2 separate regions of the Homo sapiens genome follow, and region 2 is linked to region 1. Evidence: promoter capture Hi-C in 16 types of primary human blood cells and fetal thymus (Javierre and others, 2016). All regions are on one chromosome and are shown on one strand. Each heading gives the region's core, a stretch centred on a gene start or on the middle of the fragment in contact. The rest is flanking DNA. Distances are from core to core; before and after follow the strand shown. Region 1 holds the start of MRPL44 (mitochondrial ribosomal protein L44). Region 2 overlaps AP1S3 (adaptor related protein complex 1 subunit sigma 3).

Region 1 (6,623 bases), core at 2,575-5,074:
AAAACATCCTTTTAAGGGGCACAAATCACTTCTGTAAAACCTTTTCTAGCCTTACTAAAGTTGGCTGTTGCCTCCTCTAAGTTCACTCTGCACCTTAACACCTCTAGGAAAGCACTTCCACATTGCATTCCATCTGAATAATGAGCTGTGAGTAGCATCAAATCCTATTTAGATAGCGGCTTCAGAGCTCAGCAGAGTGCCTGGCCCATAGTAAGGCACTCAACATTAAGTGGATGAACAAATGAAACAGGACAATACAAACCTGTCAATTCTACTATAAGAGACATCAAAGCTCAACTTAGACACAGATATTTGAATTATCTATGTTTCATAAGATCTTTACTTGGAACTGTTAAGACGCATTACAATATGGTAAATATTTCCAACATAGTTTCATGACTACCTTGTAGAATTTCAAAATGGTGACCAAAAATTATTTAGAGTTTTAAAACTTACTCCACAGAGTTATAGTTTGGAAATCAAAAAGGACTTTGTCAGAATTTCTATAGAAAAAACTAACTGGGGGGAGAAAGATAGGTCTTACCTATGAACAAAGCCTGAAGTGTCAGTAAATACAGATATTCTCTAACAAAATTATCAAACTTGGTATCAAAACTAAATGAACAGATTCCAACAGCAGGTTTAAAGACTGAATGTCAGTCAGATAGGTGCCTGAATCAAGACTGTTTTTATGACTTAAAGTGATTGTGTGGACTCTCTATTATCAAAAAGTGAACAAAACCTCATGTTTTCATCCAATGGCAGAGGATAAAACTTCTCCCAGTTAATAAATTATAAAAGGACAGTGGGAGTCAAGTTGTACCAATTACATAAGAATCTGAATTAGCTAAGCCACTAGCTAACAAAGAGTTTTACATTAGAGGGACTTGAAATCCAACATTTCATCACTTGGAAGAGCAGACAGCAGCTGGTACTGAAGCACAGGCCTCTGCATAGTGTCCTTTGACTTCACTCATTCACCAAACATCTACTGAGTATCTCTCATGCAGGCAGTATCCTTGGCCCTAAGGATGTAAACTTAAAGATGATATGGCTTGTGGTCCTTCAGAAATCACAACCCACAATTTAATATTCACTTCTGATGATATCCATAATAAGAGACAACTGGAATAATTACAGCCCTTCCATAAAAAACCTTTAGGTCTTTCTCAGTTTTTCTTGGGAGAAAAATTCACTTCCAAGGTGATATATCAAAGAAGTGAATTACAAAAGAATATTTTCCCTTCTGTCTATCTCAAGCATGTCCAATTAATAGTTACGTACCCTGATGAAAAGTGCAGTCCTCTCAGGTCCACTGCTCTGTAACAGGGCTCCAATAACTGCAAAGAAAGTCTGCTGTAACACAGCTGGGGGCACTGGGAATTCTTCACTCAGTGTTAACTGCTCCACAGCCAAGTTTCTAGCCACGTGACACACGACTTCCTCACCAGTGAGAAAGTCAACAAGATTTTTTATGCCTTCAGTGGGCATGTCTGGGTACTCGTCTTCAAGAAACTGTGTAAGGCAAGTCTGTGAAAAAGATGTCCCTTGTTCGGATAGTTCTTGATTACTTTTAAGATTCAGAAGAACAGCTTCTTTCTCTATCCCAAGTTGTTGGCGTTTGGCCTCCTCACTTTTAATATAGCAGCTATTAACAAATGCAGTTTTGAGAAGATCTAAGGAAAAGTTTTCCTGTAACCGATGTCCAAAAGCTTGTATTTCTGCATGGTAATCCCAGTTCGGCTTCTCTGAACTGAAAATGTAAAGACAGTAAGAGATGGTAAAGAGAACAACCTGTTACTGTGATATAAAAATTGTTCACTGTGTTGTAATGTTATTAATTATATAAAGGAAATGAAAGAAGGTTATATTTCTTTTTAATGCCAGGTTGATATTCTAAATGTTAAGACTAAAGTCAGATAAATACTGGCAGTCCTTTGCTATATTCTACATATATGACTGGATTAATTTTCCCTTTGATCCAATTGTCACATGAAATTGGTTCTTCAATATAAAAGACCAAGCCATTAGCCTAACTTTTAGGTTCCTTATTTCTGCTCTAACCATGATACTATGTTTTATACCTAAGTATGAAGCATAAATGTTAATTTCACAGATTCAAGCCATAAACACTAGTATGTTATATTTGCAGTCATCCCTCAATATCTGTAGGGGATTGGTTCCAAGGACTCTCCTGGATACTGAAATTCATGGATGCTCAAGTCTCTCATATAAATGGTGTAGTACAGGCACACTTCGTTTCACTGTACTTCGGTCTATTGTGCTTCACAGATTTATTGCATTTTATTTTTACAAACTGAAGGTCTGTAGCAATTCTGCATGTGCTCACTTTGTGTCTCTGTGTTACCATTTTTTAGCAATAAAGTATTTTAAATTAAGGTACATATATTGCTTTTTAGACACTACTACTGTACACTTAATAAACTACAGAATAGTATAAACATAACTTAGGTATACACTGGGAAACTAAAAAAGTCATGTGACTCGTTTTATTGTCGTGGTCTAGAACCAACCCTACAATATGTATGAGGTATACCTGTATCTGCATATAACCTATGCACATCCTCCTGTATACTTTAAGTCATCTCTGGATTACTTATACGTAACACAATATAAAACCCCTTTAAGAAACAAAGGGAAGCAAAGTATGAAAACCTAGGTTGAAAGTCGTAAGATATACATATAACATATACACCTATATAATCTGTCCAACCCATAAAGTTTCTTCCACCTTTGAGAGCCTAAAATACTTAATCTTATAATAAACAAGGGAATGGGAATTAAGAAGAGATTTTATTTTTTGCTATAATCTTCTCTGTTAGAAGACCGTTCCTACTGGTAGGAGTACAAAGTGGATCAACATTTTTTGGAGGGCAATGTTAAAGTACTAATAGCTTTCAAAATTTCATACTACACATGCGTCCCCTTTACGCGCTGTTACATAGGTTTTAATGGCAATAATATGGAGCTCATAGGCCCATATATACAGAGCCATAAAAAAGAGTGAGGTACATATCTTTGTAATACCATGACAACATGTCAAACACACATTATTAAAGAGAAAAAGCAAGATGAAGGAATTTAAATTATGTAAAGTATGATCTGGTTTGAAGCTATAAAAACCTGTGTCTCTCTCTGCCAAACCTGTTACCAGAACAGCATTAATTAGGGCAAAAATCTAAAGCTAACTTTTTTTCCTTTTACTCTAGACAGCAGAATTCAGGTTGTAGATTAATTTTTTTTCTCCTTAATTTACGATGCTGTGGGCTGCTTTCTTCCCGCTTATCGGAATTCTCAGGCATTACAAACGGGGACTACAACATCCAAGTCCACATAAGGAAGACCCTCCAGTTAGCCCCATTTCTCCCAATTTTCAGTAGCCAAAATCCTAAATGGTAGTTTCAAAACGTCGGGAACAGCCCGAAGCTCTACCGCCCGCGGCACAAATCCATTTTTTTTGCCTCAGGCCCCGCGCCCACAGCTCACGGGTGTCTCCATCGCAAACTTCCTAAGGCTTAACCCAGGGGCGCATCAGCCGCAGACACGACGCCGCGGGAAGAAGACCCAGTGTCTGCGACCGCCACCCTGAGACCTCTTCCCGAGGTGGCTCCTACCGGCGCACGGGCGGCGGCGGGCACCGCAGAAGGCGCTGCCGCTCTAACTCCTTCTGGAAGCGGAAGGCGGCGCGGAATCCCTTCTTCACTCCCCGAACCGGAGGGACCAGCTTGGGGGCGACTGGAGCCAGGAGGCAGCGATGTCCCTGCTGCAGCAATCTTACCAGCCCGGACGCCATTGCACGAGAGAAAACGATGGAAGACGGAACGAAAGTAGTCGGGCCAGTGTCCCCGTAACACACTTCCCCCGGAACCCGGAACGCGGAACGCGAAGAGAAGGCTGGGGCGGAGACAGCCCCCGGGGCGGGGCGACTGAGAGAGGGCAGGGGCGGAGACAGCCCCGGGGCGGGGTGATTGCGGCCGCCTTGAGGCTACGCTTGCGCTAGTTCTCTCCTCTCTTCGAGTTACTTTCCAATGATCCGGACTTGAGGGCGTTTGCGCCCAAAAGTTTCTGGGAGAAGTTGCTTCACCCTGTCACTCTCTTGTTCCTTCCTCTCTCGTTACAGCAAAACAAACAAAAATCTGTTTCGCTTTCAGGTTAAGGAAACATTTAAATCCTCAAAAAAAGAAAACATTTTTAATTTATATTTAGTGTTCTAGGCCACTACTGAGCAAGTATTTACCGAGCTTCTATTTTTGACCCAGCACGCCTCCAAAAGCCTTAGTTTTGGAAACCCTAGACTCAGAAATGTTGGCTTATCCAAAATTAAAATTTTTCTTTAAAAGCAATCTAATAGTACATATTTTTAAACATCCGGAAAATGACTGGAAAAAAACATAAAACGGTAATAGGGGAATTACAGTTTCTTCCTTCTTTATGTTAACACTCTTTAACAATGTAATTCTATTGCTTTCCTACCAAACTGTTAATACAGTACAATTTTTAAAAGAACATATTAAGTCACAAAGGGAGGCTTGTTTGAATTCCCAGTTTTGAGTTGCCTGCTGAACATCTAGACCCTCAAAGGGGCAATGCTTTCTGTGATCTCTTTGTTAAAGGCATCTGTGTCCCCAGCAGTCACCCAGATTGAACTCCTATGTCTTTGATTGTTTTTGTTTCGACAAACCCCCTCTTCGGTGCAGTTTCCACCAAGTGCTTTTTCCATTTATTTCCACTGCAGGTACCTGGTGGCTCTCCTCACCTCTTTCCGTGGTTAGTGTAATTGGCCTGGTACCTTCCTCCCTTCCCCAGACACAGCTCACCTACATTCATCTCTCTGAAACACAGACCACAAAGCATGTTATGACTTAGCCCGAGAATCTTCAGTGCCAGGATCATAGAACTCAATTTGGGTTTCTCAGCTTGACCATTTCAAAAGGGAGAATCTAAATGGTTCATCTCAGCTTATAAAAGGGTTCCCTTTGGGGAGGGAGAGAGCAAAAGAGGGGCTGAGCACACACCAAAAAACAAACTGATGGATTTCTGGTTGAAGGAAATTCTCCAAGAAGGGGTGAAAGGAGGTTACGATTGACCTTCTTGTTTCAATGTATGTAAAGTATTGAAAATTCATGGAACATCAATCCAATAAATGGATTAGGAGAAAATGCAGGGAACTGTCATTTCTGTAGAATTTCATTTATTAGGAAAAATAATCTAAGCCAGTTGTAGCACAATCATGTTAAGTTAAAATGAGGTGTCTCTGTGTTGAGAGTTTCTCAGTCATACAACAACGAGAGCATCATTTGCAGATTAAAAAAATGTAGGTCCTCAAAAGATTTCTTCTACTAATGCCCTTCATGGAACTTAGGAATTAACCAGTTTTTTAAAATCTGCTCATACATTTGTCTATTTATTCAATAAACACATAATAGGAGGAGGACTTGGTTCCAGGATCCAGGCTCAGAAAACTTTAAGGAAGAAAAAGGCCAATGTGTTTTTCAGCCCTCAAAAACCTGATTTTTCCTTTAACCTGCTGTTAGCCCTAATTTGATCAAAGCTCACAGATGTCAACAACTTTCGAGTTTTCATTGGGTTAAGGTCAGGTGGAAGGGTGGGGAAAAGTCACACTTAGGAAGAGGAGGTGAGGCGATTGAGGGTTCACTTTAACCCTTGGGGAACACAACCTTTTGTGTTTTGATGCCAGGGATATTGCTTATATATTCCTTCAATGATGGTGAAGGCAGCTGGAATACGGGGCACAGAAAGATGGATAACAAAGTTAGTAAGCTCTGCTATAGGACCTTCCTGAACAATCAAGCAATTCTGAACCACCTGGGATTACTCACCACTACTTCATAGATTAGCTAAGGAATAACTACCAAATAGTGGCCTTTAATCCAACTCACAAGGAAAATTACAGACAGAAATAATTACCATAGAATGAAAATTACTATAGTTAAAACTGTTCAAAATACAAAATTGGAGTTACTGATAAATATCGATATAGAATCAGTCTTCACCAAAGTTACATCTGTTCAACCTAGCTTTGGAAAATTTGACTTGATGGAAAATTTGACTTGATAGATCTAAAAGCTGCAACAGAAAACTCATGATAGTAAAACTGATTAGCAAAAAGCCTTAGTAAACCTGAGCAACAAATAACATCTTAGGAAATAAATGTGGAAAAAAATTCATGAAAATACATTAAGCAATAGAAACATGAAAATACAATTAGAAATAGGATACTTGTGCTGTATAGAAAATTGATCAAGAAATTTAATTGGTTTCATGGAGCTTATTCCAGAAAACATTTTCTCAAAAAAAATGCATCAATGTTAGTATAATTCTGTTATAAACACTTTAATTCATAATTATGGAAGCAAAACTTTTTTGGTGTGTTAGCGGCCAGCAAGATGGCTCTCAACAAGCCCCACCTCCTGGTACTTACACCCTTGTACATTCCCCTCTCACATTGTGCTGGGATTAGTCTGTGTAACCAATAGACCATGGATGTTTTTATCAATTCTGGGGTTAGGTAATAAAATACATCATAGCTTCCATTTTGGTCAGATACCTTGTATTTCTTGGATTAGTCTCCTGTCAGGAAG
Region 2 (6,460 bases), core at 2,437-4,936, 190 kb after region 1:
CTCTTACTTCAGTTCTGTCTCTGGTCACATCCCTTCTCTCTGTCACATCTAAAATATGAATTGAACTTGAACCGAAGATCACCTTAGTCCCCCTAAGATTAGAATACAAGATTTTTCTCCCTACCTATAATTCTTAGTAAATGAAAGACCCAAAGCTTTCCTTTTTTCTTTTTAAATAGATATGGAGTCCTGCTATGTTGCCCAGGTGGGTCTTGAACTCTTGGCCTCAAGCAATTCTCCCACCTCAGCTTCCCAAAGAGCTAGGATTATAGGCATGAGCTACCGTGCCCAGCCACCCAAAGCTTTCAAGAGGTGGATGTATCTTTATCTTCATACCACAAATACACCAGAGACCTTATTTCAGTGAACCAGAATTTAACTGTGAAGGATTTCTTGATATTCTGTTCTTTATTCTTCATTGGCTTTGTCGTCTCTTTTCTGTTTTGACTTTTTATCCTTTCTCTGGCTTTTTTTCTAAGCTATAAGTATTCTTAATTATTTATGCATAAGAAAAATAGCAACAAACAAAAAACCCAAATCCTTTTCCTTCACATTGCTATGCAATAATCTTTTTGCATTTTCTGCCAAGTGATGTACTATGCTAGGTGCTCCAGTCCTCAGAACTCATTCACTCGGCAGTGCTTACAGCATGGGTCCATCTTTACTCTGCAGGGAAATCAGCAAGTTACCATTGAACCCTCCTGCGGGTTGACACCAGCGATTCCTCTTGAGTCTTCACCTGCTTTCACCTGCTTCTCGCTGCAGCACTGGACCCTTGCTCACCATGACGCTTTCTTTAAATTCGCCCTTCTTGATTTTGCCATGACATTGATTTCTGAAGCGCCTCCTTGGTTTCTTCCACTCAGCTCCCTTCCTCTGCCCAGCCCTAAATGCCCTCATCTCTTCCTAACTCTGTGTGTACTGACGCTCTGTCCTGGAAATCCCTTACTAAGTGACTCTTCTTCCCCTTGTTGGTGACAGTCTTCACTGGGCTTCTCATGGCCCAGAACCAAACTCATCTACTGAAAATCCGTTCTGTCTTGTGATTGGAATTTGTTATGTTCCAGGATCCTTCAGTGCAAAAGGACGCAGCTTGTTTTGTCTTTTCCTATGCTTTACCAGAATCTGCCTCTGTCTATTCAAATTGGGCTGACATTCATTTCCTTCTTTCCACTCTCACTAATATAGGTTCACTTGGGATTTCAATTTTGCTTTTCTCTTAAACATCTTACCTGGCTTTTTATGCCTCTGAGCTTTTCTCTGTTCGCCCTCTTGCCCTATTAGTTACCATCTTCCTTAAAAAAACCAGATATAGGTGTGGCATTCCTTCACAGCCACTTTCCATCATGTACAATAAATAAAATCAACCCCCCCAGCCTGTTGTTTAACCTTTCAAAGCATGGATCCCTGACCACTCCTCCATCCTTGATACACTACCCTTATTTATTTATTTATTTATTTATTTATTTATTTATTTATTATTTATTGAGACGGAGTTTTGTTCTTGTTGCCCAGGCTGGAGTGCAATGGCACGATCTCTGCTCACTGCAACCTCTGCCTCCCGAGTTCAAGCGATCTTCCTGCCTCAGCCTCCTGAGTAGCTAGGTTTACGGGCCCCCGCCACCATGCCCGGCTCATTTTTATATTTTTATTAGAGATGGGGTTTCACCATGTTGGCCAGGCTAGTCTTGAACTCCTGACCTCGGGCGATCCGCCTGCCTTGGCCTCCCAACGTGCTGGGATTACAGGCATGAGCCACTGCCTCCAGCCTACATTTCCCTTTTTATATACCTGACAGTTCTCCAGCAACAAGAAATGACCTTGGAGTGTCCCTAACTGGCACCCGATTTGCTTGACCACCAAATTGCAATTCTCTTGAGACCAGTGCTTTGTGACTCATTTTATCCCCCCACCGCTTAACTTGTAACCAGCTGTGGGCCAGACTTGATAGCAAATGTTCCAAAAACATTTAATCCATTTCACAGTTTCAAGAAATAAATCATTGGATTTGGAAAATGTTTTCTTCTCATAATACCCTCTTCCCTATTCCCTTACTCACTGAAGTTTTTGTTAAGTGTTAGGATAATTTGCTTCCAGCAGAGTTTTTTTTTGTTCTTGTTGTTATTCTCTTTAATGGAATGAGCAGTATTTGCAATATTGAACACGTTTTATCAGATTTGTTGCAACACTTTTCATAAGGATGAACACTGGAAAGATTTCTGAAAGAATTTTTCCTCCCTCCCTTTTTTCCCCCTTGTAAATGATGTTGTTAAGACCTAAAATGTTGCTTCAGGGATTTCAGGTTGTTGGTCAGTATATAACAGCAATAAGACAACTAGACCATCTTTTCTTTCTCCTCTTGGTATACCAAGTTTATTTTCATTTTTTTAAGGAGAAATTTGCAAATGTATAATAACATGTTTTCAAACATATTATTTAATACTTTCTACTATTCAAATGAATTCTCACATTTTTGTACTTTCCTTTGAAATAAACTACAGACTTGGCCTTTTGCAAGAGCCTGAAGAAGTTTCCTTGAGGTCTGGGCATTCCCGTAACCTGCCTTCTCTTTCTCATTTCTGAACTCCGGCTTGACCTGTTGTATTTTCCTAGATTAAACCAACTGTGATAATGTGAATTGGGGCTGAATTTTGATCTCAATCTATCTGACCAAATTTCAGCCAGATATCTCAGGGCATTATGCTTCTCAAGAGAACTTGAGTGACCTTCACCAATGCTAAACCCAGTTAAAGTACAAAGAGAGTCAGAATGAATTCCCATTTCTCTAACATTAATTTCCCATTCTATTTTGGTATACCTTTGGAAGCTCTGTCTTTGTCATGTACCAAAATTTAATTTATTAAAAAATTCAATGAATCTTTCATTAAGCTAAGAGCAGCTAAGAGCAATTCAAGGCTATATGCCCAGTAGAAGTTCGGTTCTTGTTAATTAACAGTGATGAGCAAAGACTTCCAGTACTGATTCTCATTGACATAATCTCAGCAATAAAATATTTCTCTTTGATTTTCTTTTCCTCCCATATTAATACTAAAGCTTTCCTTGAATTCTGCCCTTATATAATGTTATCTAGGGGAAAACTTGGTACTGAGCTTCTCTTATAACACTGGAAAATATTATCTGCTGAAGACAGACGGATCAAAATCTCTGGCTACTAATTTAAGTTATGTATTTTTTTTTAGCACTTTTCAATTCCAAGGAGATTTACGAGGATTAACTAGTTAATCTTCCGATCTTCAGTAAGTAGCATTAACCTCAATTTATAGAGGCTCAGAGGAAATGCCTCAAAGTCTCATGCCAGATAAGAGTCTGAGGATTTAGATACCTGCCATATTTCTGCATTACAGACTACAGTGTGAATTTTTACTGGTGCCTCAGTGTGTGAGGATGTTGATCTCCCAGAGAGCTTTTGAATTTGATGTAGGGAGTTTTTTGTTTGTTTGTTTTTTGCTGTCAGGGGAAGAGCACTATGGGTCCCCCGGATGCTGGTGTAGGCTCACTCTCTCACCAATTCAAGGATTTGGGGCCTGTCATGTGTCTCCGTTTTGCAGATGAGAAAAATGACCCTCAAAAAGGTTAAGAGAAGTGTTTACTTTGCTAACCTTATAGGGCTGCTGGGAGGGGCAAAGAGATGGCGTGATAGCAATACTTAATAAACTATTAATTGCTATATAGTTGTACATTGCATTATAATTATTCTTGTTTTATTTTATTTATTTATTTTTTTGAGACGGAGTCTCGCTCTTGTTGCCCAGGCTGGAATGCAGTGGCGCGGTCTCGGCTCACTGCACCTTCCGCCTCCCGGGTTCAAGCGATTCTCCTACCTCAGCCTCCCTAGTAGCTGGGATTACAGGCATGTGCCACCATGCCTGGCTAATTTTTGTATTTTTGGTAGAGATGGGTTTTTGCCATGTTGGCCAGGCTGGTCTCAAACTCCTGGCCTCAGGTGATCCACCCACCTCGGCCTCCTAAAGTGTTGGGATTACAGGCGTGAGCCACTGTGCCCGGCCTATTCTTATTTTATATATAGCTTTATGGTAGTTATATAGTTTACTATTATTTGAAGCATTTGCTGCATGTAACTTGAAACTTTTTGTATTTACTTTAGAGCATCATTTAATAAGTACATGTGCTTCTTAGATTCTGTCCAAAAGGATTCAGTTGGTGAAATGCCAGAAATAATCTCACTGCACCATGAATTCTGCTGTAAGAAAAGAACCTTAAGCCAAATTACAGAAGAGCACAAGGCTAGGACATTGAAGATAAAGTTAAATGATAGTTTCTACCATTTGAAAGCTTTATTCAGAATCTAGATACACGAGAAAATAAATAAAGAGGCTCATGTTTATTAACATGGTGAGGGAGCAAGAAGCCGGGGTATTTGCATAATTAGAAGGAGTGGAATCACTTGAGCATCAAGTACATATTTTTGTTGTATTGGGACAACCTCAAGGTGGAATTTATTATTTTATTTTATTTTATTTTGTTTCTTTTTCCCGAGACAGAGTCTTACTCCGTTGCCCAGGTTGGGGTGCAGTGGTGCAGTCTTGGCTCACTGCAACCTCTGCTTCCTGGGTTCAAACGATTCTCCTGCCTCAGCCTCCCGAGTAGCTGGGATTACAGGCGTGTGCCACCATGCCTGGCTAATTTTTTGTATGTTTAGTAGAGACAGGGTCTCACCATGTTGCCCAGTCTGGTCTCGAACTCTTGACCTCAAATGATCAGCCCGCCTCAGCCCCCCCAAAGTGCTGGGATTACAGGCATAAGTAATTAGGCAGTAGCTTCAGAAACCTGACTTGGGACTGGGAACGGTGGCTCATGCCTGTAATCCCAGCACTTTGGGAGGCCAAGGTGGGGGGGATCACTTAAGGTCAGGAGTTCAAGACCAGCCTGGCCAACATGGTGAATCCCTGTCTCTACTAAAAATAAAAATAAAAAAATTAGCCAGGCATGGTGGCATATGCCTGTAATCGCAGCTACTTGGGAGGCTGAGGCGGTAGAATAGTTTGAACCCAGGAGGCAGGGGTTGCAGCAAGCTGAGATGATTCCACTGCACTCCAGCCTGGGTGACGGAGTAAGACTGTTTCCAAAAAAAAAAAAAAAAAAATGAACTGGTCTAAGGGTCTTCCTGGATATTTTCTCTCATTCTCAGATGGCAGTAGACTCAAAGAATAACTATAGGGTAGCACTTTTGTGTTGCTGTATGTGAAATAGTTGCTCAGTTGTAACATTCTCTGTAATGCCTATGGAACTTGCATATACATTTCTCTTCAGAGCTACAGATAGTAACTGTATATCAAGGGGTGTGTGTGTGTGTGTGTGTGTGTGTGTGTGTGTATTGTCTCTCTAACTCTGAATACCACCTTACCTTACCCTTATCCCTTGAAACTAGTACAGTAAATTAATTGCCCCATGGCTGCTGGAGGACCCAGACCTGGGGACGTGTCAAAGTGGGGTATAAGAAGTTCCTGGAGAATTTTCATTAGTATCTGTCAGGTTCACTTTGCAGGAGTTTAATTGCTGGTTTCTCCTAATGAGGCTCCTGTCTGTCTTGGATTCCTGGTCTACGCCTGCCTTGAACTCCGAGGTTCCTCAGCTTGCTACTATAACTCCTGACTTCTGCCTTTTCTGACCTCTGGTAACTGCTTTCTTCTCATACCTTCTTTCATGTACATGGATGTCTAATCTATTGTGATTTCTTTTTGTTTCTTTCTATTGTTTAAAACTGCAAAAATGATGCATATTTTTACATGTCCCTCTAAACATATACGGTTTTTAAAAATAGGATCGCGGCCGGGCGCGATGGCTCACGCCTGTAATCCCAGCACTTTGGGAGGCCGAGGCGGGTGGATCACGAGGTCAGGAGATCGAGACCATCCTGGCTAACACAGTGAAACCCCGTCTCTACTAAAAATACAAAAAATTAGCCGGGCGAGGTAGCGGGCGCCTGTAGTCCCAGCTACTCGGGAGGCTGAGGCAGGAGAATGGCGTGAACCCCGGGGGGCGGAGCCTTCAGTGAGCCGAGATCGCGCCACTGCACTCCAGCCTGGGCGACAGGGAGACTCCGTCTCAAAAAAAAAAAAAAAAAAAAAAAAAAATGGGATTGCATTCTGCATATTATTCTGCAACTTTCTTTTTTTTCCTCCTTACAAGTCTATCTTAGAGCTCTTGCCATATTTGTGCATGTAAATCTACCTTATTCTTTTCAGCTTCTACATAGCTGAAACATATACAACAGCAGGGAAAGGAGACAGTATCTGTGACACCGAAAGAATCATTCAAATTTCTAAGACAAATATTACAATAGAAAAAAACAAAGTCTTTAAGAAGCAATTTGTAGACAAGGCAAGAAATGGAAAGGGCCAGTGCATATCTAATAAGATGTACAGTCTCACTAATAAGCAGGGAAATGCAAGTTTAATTAATATTCATCCGAAAATTT

What was found. Contacts are between HindIII fragments. The CHiCAGO score rates a contact against its expected background, and 5 or more counts as called.
Region 2: a fragment that was not itself captured here is called in contact with the fragment with the promoter of MRPL44 in region 1 in 1 of 17 cell types (total B cells); the score reaches 7.0 in total B cells.

The regions. Positions count from the first base shown.
Region 1 is chr2:223,954,664-223,961,286 of GRCh38, reverse strand. It overlaps MRPL44 (mitochondrial ribosomal protein L44), which reads right to left and starts at 3,824. Exons shown (of 4, transcript NM_022915.5): 1 at 3,636-3,824; 2 at 1,285-1,753. The coding sequence starts at 3,814. RefSeq lists an enhancer at 3,740-3,909 and a silencer at 3,980-4,049. The HindIII fragment of the contact is 10,687 bases long and covers 1,715-6,623 here.
Region 2 is chr2:223,769,393-223,775,852 of GRCh38, reverse strand. The region is part of intron 3 of AP1S3 (adaptor related protein complex 1 subunit sigma 3); the gene reads left to right. Among named protein-coding and RNA genes, the nearest start is that of AP1S3, 65 kb to the left of the region's middle. The HindIII fragment of the contact is 1,260 bases long and covers 3,057-4,316 here.